5 separate regions of the Homo sapiens genome follow, and regions 1, 2, 3 and 4 are each linked to region 5. The links are contacts of gene promoters, found by promoter capture Hi-C in blood cells and fetal thymus (Javierre and others, 2016). All regions are on one chromosome and are shown on one strand. The core of a region is centred on a gene start or on the middle of the fragment in contact, and the rest is flanking DNA. Distances in the headings are between cores, read along the strand shown. Region 1 has its middle 30 kb from the start of WSPAR. Region 2 overlaps LOC105379178 (a long non-coding RNA gene). Region 3 holds the start of WSPAR (Wnt signaling pathway activating non-coding RNA). Region 4 overlaps LOC105379182 (a long non-coding RNA gene). Region 5 holds the start of FSTL4 (follistatin like 4).

Region 1 (4,361 bases), core at 198-2,697, 270 kb after region 5:
GTGCTGCACCCAGACTGCCCTTGACTTCAATGCCCTCCCCAAATACCAAATGTCAATTTCCCAAGCTGATGGGGGCACAGAAGTGGGGGCAGGGCTCATCCCCTCACTGAGGAATTTCCTCAGAAAGAATGATCACTCTTGCCATTTCCCTGCTCAGAAATCTGGCCCAGCCTCCTGTGGCTTTTAGGATAAGGACTCACAGCTCAACAGCCCCAGGGGCCTCCGTGAAGGTGAGCTGTACCCCACTGGCCTGGCCTCCCAGCCTCAGCCCCAAGGAAGCCGTTAGCTCCCTCAAGGCACCCAGCTCTTCCCTTCTTGTGGTTTCCCCCACTCCCAGCTCCCCTCCTGGAACTCCCCTCTCCCTGCCGCCTGCACATGGCCAACTACTTCCCAGGTCCAGTGTGAGCATGCCCTCCGCTGCCAAGGCTTCCCTGCTTCCTGAGTAATCCTAGTTTACTTTTCTTCTGTAAGAGGCAATAACACACAGTGCTGGACAGCAGGGGATCTGGAGTCAGACTTCCTGGTTCAAATCCCGGTCTGTTGCTCACCTGCTTGTGGACCGTGGATAAGCTGCTTAATCGCTCTCTACCTGTATCCTCGTCTTAAAGCAAAGCTAATCCATAGAGTTGCTATGAAGATAAAAGGACAATGTCGTCCCCTCTAAATGTTTTGAATTGTGTGGGGCACGCAGCGAATAACCAGTGTCAGCTGTTGTTATCATTACCATCACTTCTAATCTCGCATCACTCTCCTTCTTTTGCCTGCCCAGCCCTTCTCGCACGTGGTGGCTGCGCATCTACTTGGTGGTGATTTGTTGACTGCTGGGATGTCAGCTCCAAGATGAACAGAACCTGAAGCCTGGCATGGTGCCTGGCATGCACAGGTGCTCTGTAATTAACACCTGTTGATTAAAAATCATCATCACTGGCTCTTCTGACTTTAAGCGTCACTGTCCTGGTGGAAGAGGGCTGTAGAGGAGAGAAGTGGTCAGGATAGATGCCGAGTGATGCGCTGAAGCCCCCACCGGGGACACAGATGGACAGGGCACCCTGGGAGCCGCTCTGCGGGCAGCTGGTGAAGCCAGTGCCTAATCAGGCTGCCCAGGCCTGTGGCCCAGCTCTGCCTCTCCTTCCTGTGTGGCCCTGGACAGGTTTTCTAAACTTTCTGACCCTCTGTTTCTCCACTCATAAAACTCCAGTGGGAGGCCAAGGCAGGAGGACTGCTTGAGCCCAGGAGTTTAAGGACTGCTTGGGCAACATAACAAGACCCTGTCTCTTAAAAATAAAAATAAAACACACACACACAAACAAACTCCAGCAGAAAAGCTTTGGTATCTAGTTGAGGCAGCATCCTCTACAGGAAGGGCAGAGAAAGGCCGGCCCCTCTTTCTGCCTGCTTCTGGCATGGCTCCTGGCTGTCCCCAGCATCTGCATTGCCATCTGTAGAGTATGTAAATCCATACAATTAATACTCTTCATAATCTTACCGCAACCATTTTTCTTCACGAATGTGTTCAGTTTCAGGAAACGCGGCATGTCCTGGAGGCACATTTACATTTCATTATCTCTAAAAGCTTAACTACCGTGACTAATGCTGGATTAATAAGCAGCCCCTTCGAACGTCGAACTACTTTAAACACCACCACTTACGCAGTCTCACTGGTGGTGGAAGAGGGTGCTTTCAAACAGCCGCTGTGGCTGAGAAGGGGTCAGTCCAGGAAGCTAAGCAGGTCTAATTTCTGGATCTCCCTTGAGAGACTTTATATTATTCTATCCAAGCAATTAAATCTCAGCCAAAGCTATCAATTTCCCGATGAGCCTGGGACTGAAAGAAAGTCCAGGTGGAGTCCATGTGGGTCACCTGGAGTGTTCCCAATCCCCGCACCAAGGGAGAACCCTGACTGGCCTGGACTCCAAGCACAACACCTAGCTATGAGGCTGTGTGTGCTAAGCACCAGGACCAGACAATGCTCATTTGCAGCTGGAAACCTCATGTACAGCCTTTAAAAGAAGAAAACAAGCCACCAAGTTGAGAGACATCAAAGTCAGACTCCGGCTGAAAGCCCTGGGACTGCCTCCCTAAGGGACAGCACACGAACCACCCCACTGAGGCAGCCGCAGGGAGCACACTCCCTCTGGCCCTTTACCAGCAATCCTGGCACCCGGAAGTGCATGCTTTGTAAATTCCAAGCACAACCATTTTGGGCAGATATTCGTTATTATTGTATTTTTGTGACACAAGTGAGTGCCGTGTCACAGTCAACTATCAGTGCAGGTAGACAGTGGTGTCCAGAAATCTCTCCCTCCAGACTTTCATCCCACCTGACACCTCAGACCCCCAGCATTTTAGCTCATGCAACTGATTTGGGTTTGGCTGCTGCAATGTCTCTGGTTTGTTCAAGATGCTTCTCCCACAAGGATGTGTTCTGCTCTGAGAACTTGGTCACAGATGCTGGTTGATGCAGAGGCCTTCATCGAAGGGACTGGGCTGCCCCTGCCCTCCAGCCACCTCTGCCCACTCTATGCATCACTGGCTAGAGACCCCTTGCTCACCTCCCACAAATGCTCTGGGCCTACCCGTGGCCTTCAGCATAGCAGACCCAGCCCAACTTGTAGGGAGTGGGCCCACCCTCAGCTTCAGGACTGGCATCCAGGGAGGAGGCTTGCTCAAGGAAAGCCCATCCTCTGCTCCCTCTGCTCCAGGAGAAGGGGCCGAGGCCCTCAAAGTTCTGGCTCTCTGACTGTCATCCACCTCAAACTGCAAAGAGGCCCAGAAGCTAAGCCATCTACTGTTTACCAACTCTCCTCCCCAGGACCATCCTGGATCTCCCTGGGCTCCGGACAGCAGCGCTAGCACCCATTGTGACACAGGTTACTGCTTGCTCAGTGGTGCCTAGAGTCTGCATGCTCATCTCCCCGGCAAGTAGGGTGAAGCAGGGCAGGCCAGAGCACCTGTGGGATCTTGCCCCAGCTCCATGGGGTGACAACTCCACCTCTGTACCAGGAATTATTCTGATCCCTATTATCCTTCTTCCACGTATCCCACCAAAAACACCCATTTCTCAGGAAGGGCTAAGAGTCCTGGACGACACTTCATGGGGAGTCAGAATTCCCCATCATGCCAGGTGACTGACTAGCAGAACCTGCTGCTGAAGGTCACATGGACAGGGAGGCATGCACAGAACACAGGAGGTCTCATCTCCTCCTCCCCCACACCATGACCCTAGAAAAGCTCACGAGGGCAGGAGCCAGCCCTGCCGGCTAGACTCCCCCTGCAGCTCCTCAGCCAGAAACAGGGAGGTTAATAAAACACAGGACGAGGGTCTCCCGAGGGACAACTCTTGGCTGCCTCTGAAGTTTACAAAAGCAGCGCTTCTGATGCCTCAAAGGCTGCCTGCCACGGCTTCCTGTGAATTATTACACTGCAGGTTTTCAGAACATTCTGACTGCAATGCCTTGGGAATGAGAGTAATTGTATTTTATCTGTTTGCCAAGAGTTTTCAGTAAACTCCTTTAATGTACTGTAAAACTCACAGCCCCAAATAGCAATGTGTGCCTTCTAGCTTATGCACCAGGCACTGAATAAACACAGGGTGATATATGGGGCTGGAGAGGACACTATTCATATATTTACACCCTTTACCAAAACACACATTCATCTTAATGACATTACTTACTACATAGCCCAACAAATGGAGCCCTCTGAAGGTCACAGTCACAGGCGTTCCTCCAAGATGGCCTCCTCAGCTTGCAGAAGACTTGCCCCAAGGCAGTCCTTGTTCCAGGGATTCCCCACCATAGAAAATCAGATGTCCCCCCGCTTCCCTGTGAGTCAGAACCTGGGGCAGGAAAGCCACCCAAGGCCTCTCCTCCTCATCCCCCAACGACAGGGCCCAGACAGCTGGTGGACACCAATTACCACCCCGTACACCCAGACTTCAGCAACAGGCTACCCTCAAATTGGCCTCAACTCCTTCTTCAACCAGGACAAGGGGGAGGAGAAATAGGAGGAGGAAGATGAAGAAGAGGAGGCAGAGAAAGGAGGGAGGGAAAAGCGGGGGGAGCTGACGGGGGAGGAGGGTGCCTCATTGTGAGGAGGAGGAGCTGGGGGGAGGCGAGGGCAACAGAGTGGACTTGGTCTTCGGGCCACACCCCCTATCCTCCAAAGTGAGGGTCCAATCGAGACCAGGTGTGGAAGAAAAGCCACCCAAGGGAAAGGCCTTGGGCAATGGTGTGCGAGGCCAGAGGCCGGATCTGGGGTTCCATCCAGCCACCAGCCCCTAGGGAGAGCTTGACAAGGGTTTCCCCTTATGCCCCCTCAGTCAATTTCCCCATCTAAAACAGAGGAAGTCAGACCCAGTG
Region 2 (4,506 bases), core at 563-3,062, 500 kb before region 5:
CTGCGTGGAATGTGTGTTGGTGTATGTATGTGGTGGTGATGGGTGTTTAAAGGGCACTAAGCCAGTGAAAAAGACCTTAACTGGATAAGGCATGGGTCTAGACGAGGAGGGGTCAGGGGTCTTGTTCCCTGGGTCATGCCCCTTGCACAGTCCTAGTCCTCTGGCTGTAGGAGCAGCTTACCTGCCAGGGCCTACCCAGGGCCTATTGTAGCCACGTGTCTGAGAAACGTGTGTCTAGTAGGTTTGGTTTCCTCCTGAGCATGTAAGTGGTTTCTGTAGGGGAATTGTTAGATGTGGTAGAAAGAGCTGAGATAGCTGGGTGTGGTGGTGTGCACCTGTGATTCCAGATACTTGGGGGGCTGAGGCAGGAGGATCACTTGAGCCCAGGTGGTCAAAGCTGCAGTGAACTGAGATTGTGCTATTGCAACTCCAGCCTGGGTGATAAAGTGATACCCTGTCTCCTTAAAAGGTGGGGGCCTGAGAGATCAGGGTTCTGTTGTGGGGCAGTGGGAGCTGCTTTGCAGGGGCACAGGGGGCCTGGGGGTTGTTGGAGGTAGTGGGACTTAGTCCACCTTTGAGGGGACAGCCAAATGAAGGGGAAAATTGCTGGTTTTGGTACCTGCAGGAAGAGGGAAGATGTAAGCATGGTTCCAGCTGAAAACCATGCTTTAGAAGTTGGGATAGTAGTTACTCTTTGTGGAGTAGTGACAACATGATGTGAGGCTTGGTGATGCTTGTTTTTTGATCTGACTTGATAGTGTACTCATGTACACTTGATCTATTTCAATAATTTTAAGTGGCTTTAACAGAAAGGTGTGTATTTTTTTTTTTTTTTTTTGAGATGGAGTCTCGCTTTGTCACCCAGGCTGCAGTGCAGTGGCGGGATCTTGGTTTACTGCAACCTCTGCCTCCCGGGTTCAAGTGATTCTTCTGCCTCAGCCTCCCGAGTAACGGACTGGAGGCGTGCGCCACCACGCACTGCTAATTTTTGTATTTTTAGTAGAGACAGGGTTTCACTGTATTGGCCAGGCTGGTCTCGAACTCCTGACCTTGTGATCTGCCCACCTTGGCCTCCCAAAGTGCCAGGATTACAGGTGTGAGCCACCATGCCTGGCCTACATTTTTACACACACAATGTAGGTTATAAAACTACATAGCCTCTCATGTTTTGAAAGAACATTAAATGGGTTTGCAATAAAAAAGCCAGAAGGATTTTCCCAGATGAAGTGGTTTTTAGGGTGGGATTGTGGGTGATTGTTTATTTTTGCTTGTTTCTGTTTTCAGAGTTTGCTACAATAAGCATTTAGGGCCAGGCATGGTGGCTCATGCCTGTAATCCCAGCCAAAGTGGGAGGATCTCTTGGGTCCAGGAGTTCAAGACCAGCCTGGGCAACATGGGGAGACAAGCCCCTACCCCCCACCGCCTCCTGTCACTAATAAAAGCATTTAGGAATTTTATAATGTTAAGAAAACTAGAAGTGTGTTTTAAGAAGAATGGCTCCAAGGTTTCAAACCTAGAATACGGGATATGATTGTACATGTGGAGCTTCTAGTCTTGAGTCATTGGAGATGTGGTGGGAGTTTAGATTGAGAAGTTTTCCTGGGTGGGGTTGAGACATCGAAGCTCCAGGTGGGTGTGGATGGAAGCTTTTGGGGCTGGAGTCGTGTTCCTCATTGACGGGATGAAGGCTTGTGTTGAGATGTGTTAGGAAGAGGAAGTAAAAGCTTTGAAAGAAGGAACTGCCAGAGAGGAGTTATGATGCATAAAGCATGTTGGGAGGAAGGGAGCTAGAGATGTGAGATGTGGCAGTGGCCAGCAGGGTTAGATGCTTCAGTAGGGTGGGAGCTGGGTGGGGTGAAGGGGCTTGAGGTGAGGCTGCAGGTGCTGAGTACTTGGTCAAGAAGCTTGGCCTCAGCCGCCCCGTCCGGGAGGGAGGTGGGGGGGTCGGCCCCCCGCCCGGCCAGCCGCCCCGTCCGGGAGGGAGGTGGGGGGGGTCAGCCCCCCCGCCCAGCCAGCTGCCCTGTCCGGGAGGTGAGGGGCGCCTCTGCCCGGCCGCCCCTACTGGGAAGTGAGGAGCCCCTCTGCCCGGCCAGCCGCCCCGTCCGGGAGGGAGGTGGGGGGGTCAGCCCCCCCGCCCAGCCAGCCGCCCTGTCCGGGAGGTGAGGGGCGCCTCTGCCCGGCCGCCCCTACTGGGAAGTGAGGAGCCCCTCTGCCCGGCCAGCCGCCCCGTCCGGGAGGGAGGTGGGGGGGTCAGCCCCCCCGCCCAGCCAGCCGCCCTGTCCGGGAGGTGAGGGGCGCCTCTGCCCGGCCGCCCCTACTGGGAAGTGAGGAGCCCCTCTGCCCGGCCACCACCCCGTCTGGGAGGTGTGCCCAACAGCTCATTGAGAACGGGCCAGGATGACAATGGCGGCTTTGTGGAATAGAAAGGCGGGAAAGGTGGGGAAAAGATTGAGAAATCGGATGGTTGCCGTGTCTGTGTAGAAAGAAGCAGACATGGGAGACTTTTCATTTTGTTCTGCACTAAGAAAAATTCCTCTGCCTTGGGATCCTGTTGATCTGTGACCTTACCCCCAACCCTGTGCTCTCTGAAACATGTGCTGTGTCCACTCAGGGTTAAATGGATTAAGGGCGGTGCAAGATGTGCTTTGTTAAACAGATGCTTGAAGGCAGCATGCTCGTTAAGAGTCATCACCAATCCCTAATCTCAAGTAATCAGGGACACAAACACTGCGGAAGGCCGCAGGGTCCTCTGCCTAGGAAAACCAGAGACCTTTGTTCACTTGTTTATCTGCTGACCTTCCCTCCACTATTGTCCCATGACCCTGCCAAATCCCCCTCTGTGAGAAACACCCAAGAATTATCAATAAAAAAATAAATTAAAAAAAAAAAAATAAAAAAAAAAAATAAAAAAAAAAAAGCAAAAAAAAAAAAAAAAAAAGAAGCTTGGCCTCTGAAATGAGGCATCAGTCTGCGAGAAAGGAGGTTGGGCAGTGTCCTGTGTGTAAATGGGGATGGTTCCCACCACTTACTTGAGACCATTGGGAATCTTGGAGTTGCCAGTACATTCCTTGGATGTACTTGGCTTTGGCTGGGGCAGCCCTGGGCCATGACCCTCTAACCTGGAATGCCACTGTTTTTGTGAACTGCTATTTTGAGCAGATATTGCAAGAAGTGTAGAAACTAAAGAGGTGACTTCTTAAGCATCAGTCTAGGAGGCAAATAGGGAAAATGGCCAAGTTGAGGTACAAGCAACACATCTGGAAAGATAAAGGAGGGTGTAAATTTCTGGAGGATCAGGGAAGGAAAGACCTCAGAGTATTTAAAAAAATACAGAATGCTTTCCAGATTTGCTCAATATCCATGGGCAAGTGCCAGGCTAATCCTGACCTTATTCCTCCAGTTTCAGCACACGTCATTAGGACAGGGTGAGTAGAGACTCTTTACTCTCCCTTCGTAAGTGGCATTCGCCAGCTTCAAACACAACACAGAAAAGACTACAGAAAGCTGTGTTTTTATCGGGCCTGTTCACTAGTGTGTCTGGGTTTACATCCTTCAAGGGCGAGATGGACTATTAGATTTGGAGTCCTGGATCAGTTGAGGGAGAGAAAGCACTGCAAGTACTTTATCACAAGTAAGCAGACCTTTACTCACCACATACTGGAGGTCTCCCATTTTTTTTTCTACATGAACTTTAAAATGTATTTTAAAATATCTATTATTTAAATTAGACTCAGCTAATGCTTGCAGAAGAGAAAGCTGGAAACAGATGGTCTTGGAAGACCAGTCAGTGGCCCAGCTTCCAGGATGTAAATCCCAGCAAAGGATTTCTAAGGATGAGCTGGGTCAGTATATATTCCACAAAAGGATGGTTCCAGTTATAGGGTACCTTTCAGGAGTGCCAGTGGGGAGCTTTGTAGGACCCGTGTAAGGCTGCCATGAGGAGCCGGTGAGCTGTCTGGGTTAGGAAAGTTGAAAGGGCCCATGCAGTGGTAAAGGAGGCCGCAGCATGAGTGAAGGTCTTTCCTCTGTGACTGGTCCTGTCCTTGTCTTCTACATCCCACAACTGAAGGAGGGACTCTGCCTGGGTTACAGCTGCCTCCGTGCAGCCCGGCAAGAAGCAGGGAATGGAGAAGGCGCTCAGTGAATACTTGAAGGCAGAAATGCAGTATTTTACTGTTTTCTATTATTTTCAATGAGGGGAAAAACGGTAAAACTCTTTTTGAAGTCATCAGACCTTCCATTTTTGGGGATGAGGAAAGAGTCTCACAGAACGGGTGGATGGCAGAGCCAAGAATTTTAATGCCAGCTGTTTTGAAGAGTGCTACTTTTCTGGAAAGTTGTATGGCTAGACTATGGGGCTTTTGCCTTCCAAGAAGTCGCCCTGAGTGTAGCATTAGTTGGAGTAACACTCCCTAAGAATCTGACGTTCCCCTCCGGCCAATTCTGATTTGGTCTTGTGTGAAATCGCAGTGCTTGTGTTGCCACATGGGGGCGCCATCGCTCTTC
Region 3 (4,638 bases), core at 478-2,977, 300 kb after region 5:
GGAAATGGTCCCTCCAAGACCCCCCTTCCCCAGCAAAAGTGACCTGCGGTGGCAGTTAGACAGGGCTCAATGGCTAAACAAGACACACAGGACCAAAATGACAGTGCTTACAAGTCTACGGTTTATTGCAAGAAGAGGATATAAGACAGCAATAGCATTACAGTCAGGAATTTTATCACTGCCAGAGTGCCTCACCACAGTCTGAAGGGGCCAGGCATGAACTCCAATTGTCCTCCCTGTGAAAGGGCACCCTGGGTGCAATTTCTTGAATCAAGAACCACCAACATGTGCACTCAATGCCTCGGAACTGGGAAACCCGAGATGCATAGATTTTCAACCTCTTATGAAGCTCAAGAATATCTGCTCACATACCTGCGCAGGGGGGAGCAAGGACTCTGCTACCCATGTCCTAGGTTGGTCCACGTTCATTACAGAAATGGCCGAGGCCCATGGACTACAGGGGCATACAACACTGGGGAACTAGAACTCACTGAGCAGCCAGACAGAAGAGTGGACCAGGCATAGTCGTCCCAGTGGTTTTAACCAGAAAAGGCTTCCAGGGGAGGTAGGGGTCAAGGAGGGCCGGTTAGAGCCCAAGCCAGCTAAGCTTCTTGGAGGGACACTTCTAGGGGATGAAGGAGTGAGAGTGGAAGGTTTCATAGAGAGGGTCAAGCATCGCCCTGCCCACACTGCTTGTTTCAAAGTGCAAAGATCCCATGGCTGGAGTTAAATGCTCCCCATGGTTGGGATGCTGCCTGTCCCTGTTCTTCACAGTTCCAGGCTGGGGATCCACCTCTGCCATGTAAGATGGAATGTGGATCCGCATGGCCAGGTCTGTACACCATCAATCAGATATGAAGCAACTCTGGGGGCTACCCCATCTTACTTCCTTCCACTCTGGAATTATTTGTGCTAGAGGGTACCTTGGAGCAGTAATTTCATATACCAACAATGTCCAATCAAGCACTGTAGAACTGCTGTTCCACAATTAAACTCTGTAGCCATAATTTGTTTATCAATAAAATGTAGGCCAGGTGCGGTGGCTCATGTCTGTAACCCCAGCACTTTGGGAGGCCAAGGCAGACAGGTCACCTGAGGTCAGGAGTTCGAGACCAGCCTGGCTAACATGGTAAAATGCTGTTCCTACTAAAAATACAAAAAATTAGCCAGGCATGGTGGTGCACGCCTGTAATCCCAGCTACTCAGGAGGCTGAGGCAGGAGAATCGCTTGAACCCGGGAGGCGGAGGTTGCAGTGAGCTGAGATTGCGCCACTGCACTCCAGCTTGGGCAACAAGAGTGAAACTCCGTCTCAAAAAAAATGTAAGGCCAGGCATGGTGGCTCATGTCTGTAACCCTAGAACTTTGGGAGGTCCAGGTGGGAGAATCTCTTGAGCCGAGGAGTTCGAAACCAGCCTGGGCAACATAGTGAAACCTTGTCTCCACAAAAAGTTTTTAAAAATTAAGCGAGTATGGTGGCATGTGCCTGTCATCCCAGCTACTCAGGTGGCTGACGTGGGAGGGTCGCTTAAGCCCAGGAGGTCGAGGGTGCAGTAAGCCATGGTGGTGCCACTGTACTCCAGCCTGGGCAACATAGAAAAACCTTGTCTCAAAAAATGAAAAATGAAAAATTTTTTTTTGAGAAGGAGTCCTGCTCTGTTGCCCAGGCTGGAATGCAGTGGCGCAAACTTGGCTCACTGTAAGCTCTGCCTCCCAGGTTCACACCATTCTCCTGCCTCAGCCTCCCGAGTAGCTGGGACTACAGGTGCCCACCACCATGCCCGGCTAATTTTTTGTATTTTTAGTAGAGACGGGGTTTCACCATGTTAGCCAGGATGGTCTCGATCTCCTGACCTTGTGATCTGCCTGCCTCGGCCTCCCAAAGTGCTGGGATTACAGGCGTGAGCCACCAGGCCCAGCCAAAACGTAATTGTAATTAAGTTTACTTTCCAAAGAAGAAAAAACACTCAGAATCCAAACAGGACAGGTGGAATCAAAGGCTTCTTCACAAAGATGCGTGGGGTAATGCGGAACCCCTTTTCTTAAGAAAAGTTTCTGCTCAGAGGGGATCCTGGCCTTGCTGTTGCAGCTGTTATAAATCGTCCATGGGCATGAAAATGGAGATGGTCTTTGGAGGCCCGGGGAGAGATAAGGAGAGTAACAGACGCCACAGAGGCCATGCTTGGCTGTGGGTTGCAGAGATCTCCATCCCGATTGGAATAGTAATTGCTTCATTGGATCATTGCTTCGAAAAATAATGCGGTGGGGGAGCAGAGGCAGCCCGCTGTGAATTCCAAGCAGGAACATACTGAACTGCTCCAGAGAGAGGGAACTCTGCAGCAGGGAGCGCCTGGAGCCAGGAGTCCACTCACCCCAGCAGGAGGACTCTCCAACAAGAATTCGCCACTCCTGACCTGGAATGTGGAGATGGGAATGGCCAGACGGGCCCTGGACCTGGTGAAGGATGTCAGGACACTACAGCGTCACTGCTCCTGGTGGCAGCCACCATCTCTTAACCCCTCAGGGAGAGTTAAGATTCAGGTCAGCACCTAGAGCAGCTACCTCAGAGTACTTAATGCCAATCCCTGGGCAAAGAACTTCTACACTAAATTCCATTCTGTCGTCACCACGCTGGGAGGTGGACATTACTATCCTCATCTGACAGACAAGGAAACTAACACTACAAGGAGATTAAATAGCATGACAAAGTCTCCATCCTGGCTGAACTTTGGATAAGATCTACGTTTGGGATTCTTCTTGGTGATGGATGATGCCTAGACCAGCCCCAGACACCCTCCCAAGCCTAAGCTCCCCTCTCCTGTTCTGACATCCCCATCCCACCAGGAACCCAAGCTTGTGGCCATCGTGCCAGGAGGACTTCTTCCAGGTTTTAGTATAGCCTGAGTGACCTCTAGGAGTCCTTGGACCTGAGCTAACTCCTGTACAATTTTGGCCGGTTGTCTGGTTAATAAATTAACAATTGGTAATGATAACAGCTAGCCAACATTGTTGGTTATATGCCAGCCACTAAGGTAAGCATTATCTTATATGGCCCTCATAATCTCTCTATAAGGTAGAGTTATATAATCCCCATTTTATAGAGGGGGAAACTGAGGATTAAGCACGTGAGTCACCTGTGGGAAGGCAGAGTCTGGAATCCAGGGGGTTCGATTCCAAGGTCCATGCTTTTAACTCCTGTGTTTTTTTGCTCAGTTTCAGAAAACCCAGTTCACAGAAATCTGATACTTTAGAGATAAATTATTCACATAACAAAAGGATCTTTTACCTTGGGGAAGGATTCAGCTGGACTTTGAGCATAACTTCCTTCGTGCATTTAAAATGTGACCTGACTTAGGATTTTTGGTGTCCTGCCCATGACCTGATGAGAAACTATATTTGTCCCCAGGCTTCTTCAGCTGATATCCTTCTTCCCCTACAGGGAAGGAGGTCAAATCTAATCCTAGGCCTGGAAATGCTTGGCCAGGGCCTGGTGGTGCCCAAGCCCCTCTCAGGCTGGGCTTTGGCTTCTTGGGGCCAGGCCTTGGGTATAGAGGCCACTGCCCACACTCAGGCCCAGACAAGCTTGGTGACCTTGCATGGGCCACTCCGTGTCTCTTGCTCTGCCGCATGTAACCCTGGTCATGCTGACTTGCTCTTGCTGGGGCTCCCGGGTGTATCTAATAAATGATGTAAAGCACTTAGAGACATAAGTGCTCAACTACTGGGGCCATAAATTACCAGGGATGGATTCCTGAATGTTATGATTATGTGCTTGTGCTTGTTCTCAGTAATGAATAATTATCCTTTTAGTCCTGCAGCCACATCCAAACATCTTCACCCCACAGGACTAGAGGAGTCACTGACCCTGACTGCTGGGCTCCTCCGATGGTCATGGGCAACAACCAAATGCAAAGCTTGGTCCCTGATGGACACCAGTCTGAAGAACCTTTTCTATAAGGCACGTTTGGGTAAATTTGAACACAGGCAAGGTATTAGATGGTGTCAGGAAACTGTTAACTTTGTTAGGTATAATCATGGCATTATGATTATACAGGAGTTTGGTTTTTTTTTGTTTTTTTTTTTGAGATGGAATCTCACTTTGTTGCCCAGGCCGGAGTGCAGTGGTGCAATCTCAGCTCACTGCAGCCTCCACCTCCTGGGATCAAGCAATTCTCATGCCTCATCCTCCCAAGTAGCTGACATTACAGGCATGCACCACCACACCCAACTAATTTTTGTATATTTAGTAAAGCTGGGGTTTCACCATGTTGGCCAGGCTGGTCTTGAACTCCTGACCTCAAGTAATCCACTCGCCTCGACCTTCCAAAATGCTGGGATTACAGGATACGCCTGGCCAGGAGTATCTTATTTTTTTAGAAGTGCATGTTGAAATAGGGGTAAAATACCTGTCATTTATTTTTAGATACTTTAGGAAAAAAAAGATGAAGCAAATACTGCAAGATATATACATTAGCTTAATCTAGGGATAGGCATATGAGTGCTCACTACATCATTTGCTCTGCTTTTCTATATATGTTTATATGTAATTAAGTTTAAAAACAAAACCAGCAAAGCATGATGATTTCAGAGACGTGCTCTGGCTAAGTTACAATTCCCTCACAAGTAACAGGCAGAGGGAG
Region 4 (4,364 bases), core at 1,008-3,507, 330 kb after region 5:
TCTAAAATCCTCCCCCCACCCCCTGCCAAGGATGCAATATTGTTTTTAGCTTACTATCCTTGCAGGAAGAGGAAAATTCATAATAGCTCTCAGTCTATAGGTCAGGGAGCTAATGTGATGATTCTGTCAATTGCAGAGTATGTCTATTCCAATTAGATACCTAGAGACTAAGGAAGTATCACAAGAGTGAGTCCATGGGCCCAGTGTGAGATGAAGTTTGGTCAAAACTCCATTTATCAGCTCACCACCATAAACCTTTCCTTTGACTAGTAGACCAAGGGGGTAGTTTGAGTTCCCAGGAATTAGCAAAAATTAAAATCTAGTGTCTAGCGGCCCCTAAAAGGACTGCCTGTTTCCTCATTCCTCAGATCCAGTGTCTGCAGATCCCAGTGGTCAAGGCTTAGGAGTAGTTTTGCAGTATATATATGGATGTATTTGTGGCATTTTGCAGATTTCTTTCTCAAGAAGGCCAAGAACCGTGTTGATCACGTGGTTCCAGGACGTGAACCGGCTTAGGTCTGGGAAAGTGAAGGGGGGACCATGACTGCATTGTGGGGGCCGAAGTTGGCTTCTGGCCACAGATCGTGCTTGTCAGGATGGTTCAGTGTGCTGTCCACCCACTTCAATCCTAGAGGCTCCAGATAAAGCAGCTACCACCAAAGTGCCCCTCCATCAAGACATTCTGATTCCCACACTGGGTATGTGTGCAGTGGGAAAAGGAGGAGGGCAGGAACGGTATTATTTGACTGTTACCGGTGTCACCCAGCATTGCCTTTTTTTGCTCACAACTAACATTTAAGGCGGGTTTTCTCTGGCCTGAACTCTCCCCTCATGGGTGCTTTGTGGATTCTTTGGGAACCCCAAATGGAACACTTGGCTGCAGGTTCCTCTGTGTGGCTGCTGCTTTCCTCCCTCAATCTCCAGGAATTTGGGGGTCCATCTGTCTTCAGGGTCACCTTTCCCTTCTGGGCAGGTTTATGAGGCCAGCCCTTTGCCCCACGTGGCCCATATCTGTAAGAAACACTTACTTATGCATCAGTGGTCTTACTACTGGTAGAAGCACAGTTGGCTCCAAATGTGCCTCACACCTCTCTCTCTCTCGCTCTGTGTGTGTGTGTGTGTGTGTGTGTGTGTGTGTCTCTGTACCCCCTACCCTGTCTCTTCCCTTCCTCTCCTCCCCTTTCTTCTCTTCCCATCTACCCCCTCTGTCTCATGTTTAGAGTCTTCAGGTGAATCTCGGAAAACACGGCCTGTAACCCTGACACTTTGGGAGGCTGAGGCGGGCAGATCGCTTGAGCTCAGGAGTTCAAGCCTAGCCTGGGCAACATAGCGAAACCTTATCTCTACTAAAGGGGGCTGAGGCAGGAGGATCACTTGAGCCCAGGAGGTCAAGGCTACAGTGAGCAGTTATCACACCACTACACTCCAGCCTGGGTGATAGAATGAGACAGTATCTCAAAAAAAAAAAAAAAAAAAGAAAGAAAGAAAGAAAAAGAAAAAAGAAAAGTGGCCAGGCGCAGTGGCTCACACCTGTAATCCCAGCACTTTGGGAGACCAAGGCAGGTGGATCACCTGAGGTCAGGAGTTTGAGACCAGCCTGACCAACATGGTGAAACCCCGTCTCTACAAAAAATACAAAATTAGCCAGTTATGCTGGTAATCCCAGCAACCTGGGAGGCTGAGGCAGGAGAACTGCTTGAACCCAGGAGGTGGAGGTTGCAGTGAGCCGAGATCATACCATTGCACTCCAACCTGAGCAACAAGAGCAAAACTCCATCTCAAAAAAAAAGTTATATTATTTTATATATACTATATTCTATATAGCATCTACCTCATAGGGCTCTTGTGATAATTAAATTGAACAACCCTGGTGAAGAACCTAGTTAAAGTGCTCAAGAAATGGCAGGTATTATTAGTATTCCTATTAATATTATAAACCAGAGCACACAATGGCCCCAGCTGATCTACCAGGTCAGGAATCAGGGAACATTTCCTCCTCAGCTGCATCTCAGGCAGTGAAAGGCAAATCTCTCCAGAGGAGAGGCCCACAGATGCATCTGTGCTTTCCCACCACCATCGCGTGCCCGCCTGCACACAGGCAAGCAGCTTTTTGAGCTTTGGAACTTTACAGGGAGGACTGGATTTGGGATGAGGCCTGGGGTCGGGGAGCAAGAGGCCTGGAGCAGGGGCATTGGCCTCCAGCACACAGACATTTTCCAGTTTGCAAAGTTTCCAGCCTAGCAGAAGGAGGGTGGTTGGGGTTGGGGTTGGGGTTGGGGGAGTTGGCAGTCTGAGATGGATTAACATTTTCCTTCCTCGGGGCCTAGAGTAGTGGAGGAATTTGGAGAAGCCGCGAAGATAACTCAGGGCTGCTTTGAACATTTGAACCAAGGGCACTTCTGAAGCCAAGGGGTTGGGCGGCAGCATTGATTTTTAAGTTCATCACAGCTACAGCCTCAGATGTGGACTGTGCTGAGGGACCCAGGATCTGAACTCCTCACGGAGGCTGGTAGAAGAAATCTCCCAGGCTGTCTTTGCTGGGGACCATAACCAAAACTCTCTCCCCAAGATTTAAAAAAAAAAAATTCAGCCCTCAGAGTCCCAAGCAGGCCCTGGGGCTGTCACGAATTTCTGTGTAGTCCTTTCTGTGAAGTTCTTGGCTCTTCCCCAAGCCATGAAACCACTCCCAGAACTGGGTCAACAGAAATCATCCAGAGCAGAGAGCCAGCCACTACCTTACCTACTCAGGAGGCTCTGCAGAGGGCCAGGGCAGTCGGAGCCCTGTCCCACCAACAGTCTTGCTGTGGGACAACCATGTCCCACCAGCAGTCTTGCTCCCTTCTCCTTCGGCATTATACCCAGGGTGTGACTGGCTCCCAGCCTATGGGAAAGATGGAACTTTTTCACGGGTTTCTGGCTGAGAAGCTGCAGACATCCGAGGGACGTGCCTTCTGAGCCAGCTGCCCCAAATGGCCAAGCAGTCTCTCAACAGCAGTGCCCATTAGCTAATGCATATAACACATCTGGGGATGGGTGCACCCCATCTGTACTTCCCACCAAATGGCTCTCAGGTTGAGGAACCGTCTGTGTATCTCTAAGGAGGCATGTTGCCAAGGACCCTACCGTGGTACCAGCATTGTCCACTGAGGCCGAAGCCATTTCTCCAAGTTCATGCCTGCCCTTTGCCCTTGGAGGAGTCAGTGGAGCTGGGGACTGAACAACAAAGGACTTCAGGTTGGGACTAATGGACCTGCAGGTGCCCTGAGATTGGGGGAGTTATGACAATCGTACTTTCTTTTCTTCTTAATTTATTTTTATTTTATTTATTTTTATTTATTTATTTATTTATTTATTTTTTGAGACGGAGTCTTGCACTGTCGCCCAGGCTAGAGTGCAGTGGTATGATCTCAGCTCACTGCAACCTCTGCCTCCCAGGTTCAACCAATTCTCCTGCCTTAGCCTCCCAAGTAGCTGGGATTACAGGCATGCTCCACCACACCTGGCTAATTTTTGTATTTTTAGTAGAGACAGGATTTCACCATGTTGGTCAGGCTGGTCTCGAACTCCTGACCTCAGGTGATCCACCCACCTCAGCCTCCCAAAGTGCTGAGATTACAGGCGTGAGCCACCGCGCCTGGCCGATAATCATGCTTTCTTTTGCCCTCACTGTCGGAGATTTGGACTTACTGCCAGAAGCATCCTTCCAGCATCCAGCAGAAACTCGAAGATGCTTTTTCCTGAGAACCCAGGTAAAGAAGGAGGTCCCCTTTATGGTGTAGTCACACTACCCCCTGCTGGACAGAAGGCAGCATGGCGATGAGGGCCTGCAGTGCCCAGCATCCATGGATATTTGCCAAGTGTCGTGGGCAAGGTATTAGACACACAGTAAGCACTCAGTAACAGTCACTTATTGTTATCGTTTAGTTGCTGTTGTTGTCATAGAGTGAGGACCACCACAGAAGATCAGAGAAAGAAGTTACTGTGAGGCAGAGGGTCGCTATCGCCTTCTGGGCTCTGCCTCTGGCTGTCTATCCCAGGGGAGATGTACGCAGAGCTCTTGAGGGGAAGAAGCTGCTTATGGGCCATCATCACCTACAAGGGCACCTCCCACTTCCACAGACGGGCTCCGATCACCTGGGCCCCAAACGCCCTTGAACTAGCCTCTGTGTTGCCAAGTTCTTTCTGCCCGTGTTCCCTGAGCAGACCCTCTGCAACCTCAGCTGGTCCCCGCACTGCAAACATTTGCTGATCTATTCAGCTCAATTTAAGCTGCAGCAGACCGAAACCTCAAGTGAGCTAACATGACCTTGCTGTTTTCATTTTCATCGAGATAAGAAAATGCCAAGATAAGTAATTGTCAGAGT
Region 5 (4,336 bases), core at 1,274-3,773:
AGTTAAGGTAGTTTTATGAAACAATGACTATTCAATGCTAGTCTCTGAATATAGTGTTAAGTCAAACAAAAGATCATAACGTGAAGGTCACATTTAAAAAGTCCTACGGCCCTTAGTAAAAGGAAAAAAAGTCCTCAGTGACTGACTGGTCATGGTGGAAAAATCCAACCTCCTCTTCCCTCACCCACCTCCAGGGCACAGCCGAAAGGATAAAAGTTCTCCTAATACCCAGAAAAACAAGCTGGCCTTTTCCAGAAGAAAAAGAGCTTTCCTAGAATCAACAAAAATTGAGGATGATCATAAAAGTCTAAGAGAGAAAAAAGCACTAGGACAACTCTAACGAGCAATTTAAATACATTACATCAAAGTGGACTATTTTCTTATGTGAACTTTGGCTCAGTCTGAAGTCTTTGGAGAGGGTGGTGCCTTTTTTTCCTAGGATGGGAGGGAAAAAGCGAACATTTAGCAGAGTATGGCAGAAATGGTCTAGTGATGCTGCAGTGCCTCCTTCTCACAACGCTAAGATGGGAAGCAGACACGTGCCCTGTAGGGCATCTGCTCGTATGTCCGGCTTGAGCTCCTGCCTGAGAGTTGCTGTGGCTCTGGAGTCTCAGAAGCTGCATCACTCACACCTCCGACCATTCCCTTCCCAGGTGGACCCCCCGCCAACCAGACCCAGAGTCTGTCCTGGGGGCCAGAGGGGCAGGCACAGAAACTGGCGCCTGGCTCCCAGGATTAAGAAGACACTATTAAAAAGCATCGCTGGTTTCCCCTAAATTTGGCAGTAGGAAAATAACTTAGGACTTTCAAGAAGAGTCCTAGTCGCTCACTGATCCGTCTTTTCCCCTCACAGATTGTGACACAGGCCCATTCCCGGTGAACATTTTGGCTGGCAGTTACTTCACCACCTATTGAAATTCTGTTTACGTTTGGCCCAGAGAACCTGGACGGATGTTTGTATCTCGGGGGCCCCATCTAGTACAATTCCTGGTGCACAGGCTTGCAACAAATTTACGAAGGTAACAGACCAAGCTGCCGGCGCTGTTTTTCACTGGAGGAAAGCTCGGCGGAAGCGACACCTAGAGGGGAGCGGCGGGCTGTGGCCGCGCCATTCATCAGTGTCGGCGGCCCGCGGCCGCGAGCGAGGGCTGCTGGACAGCGCCCCGGCACCCGCTCTCGAGCCGCGACACCGACCTCGCCGGGCCCGCCCCGCTGACCCGCGCACTCCTAGTGCACTTGCCGCGCCGCGCGGAGGCTCGCCGCGCTCTGGAAAACAAGAAACCCCACTGCCTCGGCGGCTTTCCGCTCCCGCAAGAGTTGCGGGCACAAAGTCCTCAGGTGGCAGGCCTGGGGTTGGCGCCGCTTTGTCGGCTGCAGGGAGCCCCAAAGACTAGCGTCAGCTCGTCCCCAAACTCGAGGCGACAGGCGCCGAAAGCAGAGTGCTGTGCCTGCCTCGTCCAGGTCCCTCCTGAAACTCAGAACTCGTCTTTGTTTTGCGGGCGCAAAGAGGGCGGAGATCATCCACAGTGCAAGCTCTCTTAGGACCAAGCCCCCAGCCCGAACGCTGAACGCCCCCAACACACTGCTCCCTAGACACGTTCAAGCGGGTACCCCGGGCCGCTCACTCTGGACCGCGGCCGGCTACGCACAAGCAGCGCCGCAGGCTGCCTGGAGTCGGGTCGTGCCCTGATTCCTTCCTCCCCAGCCTCACATGCGGCGGACCCCGGGGAAGCCAGGGCCAGGCGAAGCGCAGCGGGCCCTTTGGGCTGCAGCGAGGAGACGCAAGTTTCCCCGCAAAGCCGCGGGGAGGAGGTGCTGAGAATGCCTGCCCGGCGCCCCAACCCGGAGCCAAGGGCACCGGGCCCGGGCCGAGGGGCCGCGCTCGCCTGGCTCCGCCGGGGCCGCTCGGGGTCCTGAACCCAAGAACGGCGCCTGCAGGATTTCGGAGCCGGGCGCGAGCTGCGGGCTCGGCCCGAGCGCTTCTGCGTGGCGCCCCGCGTGCCAACCGGGTCACTCCGGTCCCCACCGTAGACCCCGGCCACGAGCCTCGGCGTCCCAGCCTCTCCTCGAGTCCTGGCCTTGGCCGGGGTAGCCCTGCCGAGCCCTGGCCCAGCGGTCCCTTCCCCGCGGGCAAACTTGGCTTTCCCGGCGCGGGCAGTAAGGACAAGCAAGCGCCCGCGCCGGGCCCTGCAGCAAGATGCGGGGCCGCGGGCGCCAGGACCCCAGTGGGGTGCAGCGGGACCGGCTGGTGGCGGCGCCAGCGACATGGCACCCTCCCCGCGCCCGCTGGGAGCTGCGCCCGCGTACCTGAGACGGCCGGGGCCGAGGGGAAGACCAGGTGGCCGGACTTGGGCGGGAGGGAGGGAGCACCCCGTGGCGGCGGCGGCGACCCCGCCCCGCGTCCTTCGGCTGGTTTCTCGGGCTGTCGGCGGGTCCCGGGCTCGCTGGAGGCTGTTGAGGCTCCAGCTCCCTGAGCCGCCGCTGCCCGCTGCTGTGCCACCGCCGCCGCGGCTGCCCTATTTCTGCCGCCGGGACCGGAGCCCGTGACGTCACCCTCTGGGCCCCGCCTGCCCAATCGCCGCCACCTGTGCGCGCCGCCCGCCCGCCAGCCGGTCAGACCCGCGCGGCGGCCACGGCAGGTGCGCGGAGCAGGCGGGCGCGCACGCGGGGCGCGATGACTCCGGAGCGCTGGGGCCATCTAGGGCCCGGAGGGAGGAGGGCCAGCGTAGCGCTCCTGCCTCTGGCTAGCGTGGAGCTCGGCAAGTGACAGCCCCTCTTCACCTCTGCTCTCCTCCAGGCTCCTTTCCGGGCCAGGTTCCCCAAAGCTGTGCTCTCCAGGCGCACAGGGGGTCTCTGAATCCGCGGCCATTGCTCGTGGAGTCCAGGCGGGCCGGTACACCACAGCAGGAGAGCTGTCCCTGGGGACAAAGTGGGTGAAATCCCCCGCCGTTGAGACCCAACAACCTGGGAAACAGCAAAGGTTTTCTCTTTTCTGAATCTTCCCTCTTCCAACTACAGAATCTTAAGACATTCAGGGCATACAGGGGCAATCCCAAGTGACATTTGCCTACCTGACCTAGCTGGGCCCAGAGGGTCCCTTCTCCCTTAGAACAGGATATTTCCCCATCCTGATCCCATCCCCAAGCCTGGGGCTCCCAAACTTTTCTGAATCCCTCTTTAACATCAGCAGCTTTTGAGATCAGTCTTCCTTCCCGAATGAACTGGAAACACCTTTGTAACAACTAGGGGCCCATAAATGGTCATACGTAGCCTCAGTCTGGCAGGAAACTTAGGAGGGAGCCCCTACCCAGGCCAGGCTGATGGCCAGGAGACTTTCTGAGGGCCTGCCTCCTGCTCTGGCTGCGTGGGCACCAGGGGCCTTCCTGGCTTAGGTGAACAGTGTTCTGTCCATGCCTCTGTAATCTCTCCTGGCCGGGGGGAGGTGACAGAGGGGATTTTTCTGAGGATGAAGTTAGTTAAATATAAGGAAAAGGGGAAGAATAATGGAAGGCTGACCTGAAGAAAGAGATATTACGTTTGTTTTTTCCTTCCACAGATTTTCCTGCCGCTGAACCCCTCCAATGCAGCAGGCACTGTGCTATTAATAGTTGCTAGAGATACAGCAGTGAATGGGCCAGCGCGGTCTTGGCATCACACAGTTTTGGTCTGGGGTCCAGCTCTCCCTCTATCACTGCCAAGCTATGTAATGCAGAGCCAATCGTATCTCTACTGTAGGTATCAGTTTCCCCACTTGTAAAATGAGGGGTTGGACAAAACCTGGTTGACTTCCCATGTGGATACCATGATTTTTACTCAGAAGGATAAAGGCTACTACATCCTCAGTGACCCTGGGCCCTAGCCAGTGTGATCCTCTCTCAGATTTGACTATGAATCTTTGCCAAGGCCACCATGACTGAACTTCTGGGGCTGGCTAGGGGCCAGATTCTCCATGGCAGGACTGGGGAAGGGATGGCACTTTTCATCTTGGGAAACAGAAAAGAGAAAATGAGTATAAAAGGAAGCAGGGAAGTTTGGAAATGTGCTGTGCCTCCCTCTGAAATGTAATTCTAAGTCTGTGGTCAGGAACGTACACCATGGCTTAGAGGCTGGATTCGGCTCTCCTCTAAGACATGAGGTATTTGGAAAAGCAGATTTCTATTCTCAGCTCTGATCACAAAGTCCCTGAGTCAACCTAGTGGCCTTATTACATAATCAAAGCAGGACTTTGTGTATTTTTTGTTTTTTAGTAACTCAAGGTCATATGTAAATCAGGGTCTATAGGTTGACCAAGATCAGAAATAGCTCTGTTTAATGCAGTGAACAGGCACTGAACTTC

Evidence for each region. The method cuts DNA at HindIII sites, captures the fragments that hold promoters and counts their contacts. A CHiCAGO score of 5 or more calls a contact.
Region 1: a contact is called between a fragment that was not itself captured here and the fragment with the promoter of FSTL4 in region 5, in 1 of 17 cell types (M1 macrophages). The highest score is 6.1, in M1 macrophages.
Region 2: a fragment that was not itself captured here is called in contact with the fragment with the promoter of FSTL4 in region 5 in 2 of 17 cell types (total CD4 T cells and M0 macrophages); the score reaches 6.7 in total CD4 T cells.
Region 3: a contact is called between a fragment that was not itself captured here and the fragment with the promoter of FSTL4 in region 5, in 2 of 17 cell types (endothelial precursors and M1 macrophages). The highest score is 5.4, in endothelial precursors.
Region 4: a contact is called between a fragment that was not itself captured here and the fragment with the promoter of FSTL4 in region 5, in 3 of 17 cell types (endothelial precursors, M1 macrophages and M0 macrophages). The highest score is 9.5, in endothelial precursors.

Annotation. Positions count from the first base shown.
Region 1 is chr5:133,881,445-133,885,805 of GRCh38, forward strand. No RefSeq gene overlaps it. Among named protein-coding and RNA genes, the nearest start is that of WSPAR, 30 kb to the right of the region's middle. RefSeq lists enhancers at 2,174-2,675, 2,676-3,175 and a silencer at 3,520-3,720. The HindIII fragment of the contact is 248 bases long and covers 1,324-1,571 here.
Region 2 is chr5:133,106,907-133,111,412 of GRCh38, forward strand. LOC105379178 (a long non-coding RNA gene) reads right to left here. Exons shown (of 3, transcript XR_948792.2): 3 at 4,162-4,506. Among named protein-coding and RNA genes, the nearest start is that of HSPA4, 57 kb to the left of the region's middle. RefSeq lists an enhancer at 1,611-1,660. The HindIII fragment of the contact is 180 bases long and covers 1,723-1,902 here.
Region 3 is chr5:133,910,967-133,915,604 of GRCh38, forward strand. It overlaps WSPAR (Wnt signaling pathway activating non-coding RNA), which reads left to right and starts at 2,711. Exons shown (of 3, transcript NR_131252.1): 1 at 2,711-3,030; 2 at 3,809-3,956. The HindIII fragment of the contact is 2,244 bases long and covers 606-2,849 here.
Region 4 is chr5:133,940,654-133,945,017 of GRCh38, forward strand. All of the region lies in intron 3 of LOC105379182 (a long non-coding RNA gene), which reads right to left. Among named protein-coding and RNA genes, the nearest start is that of C5orf15, 26 kb to the right of the region's middle. The HindIII fragment of the contact is 4,627 bases long and covers 1-4,364 here.
Region 5 is chr5:133,610,018-133,614,353 of GRCh38, forward strand. FSTL4 (follistatin like 4) reads right to left here and starts at 2,524. Exons shown (of 16, transcript NM_015082.2): 1 at 2,308-2,524. RefSeq lists a silencer at 1,206-1,255. The HindIII fragment of the contact is 11,171 bases long and covers 1-4,336 here.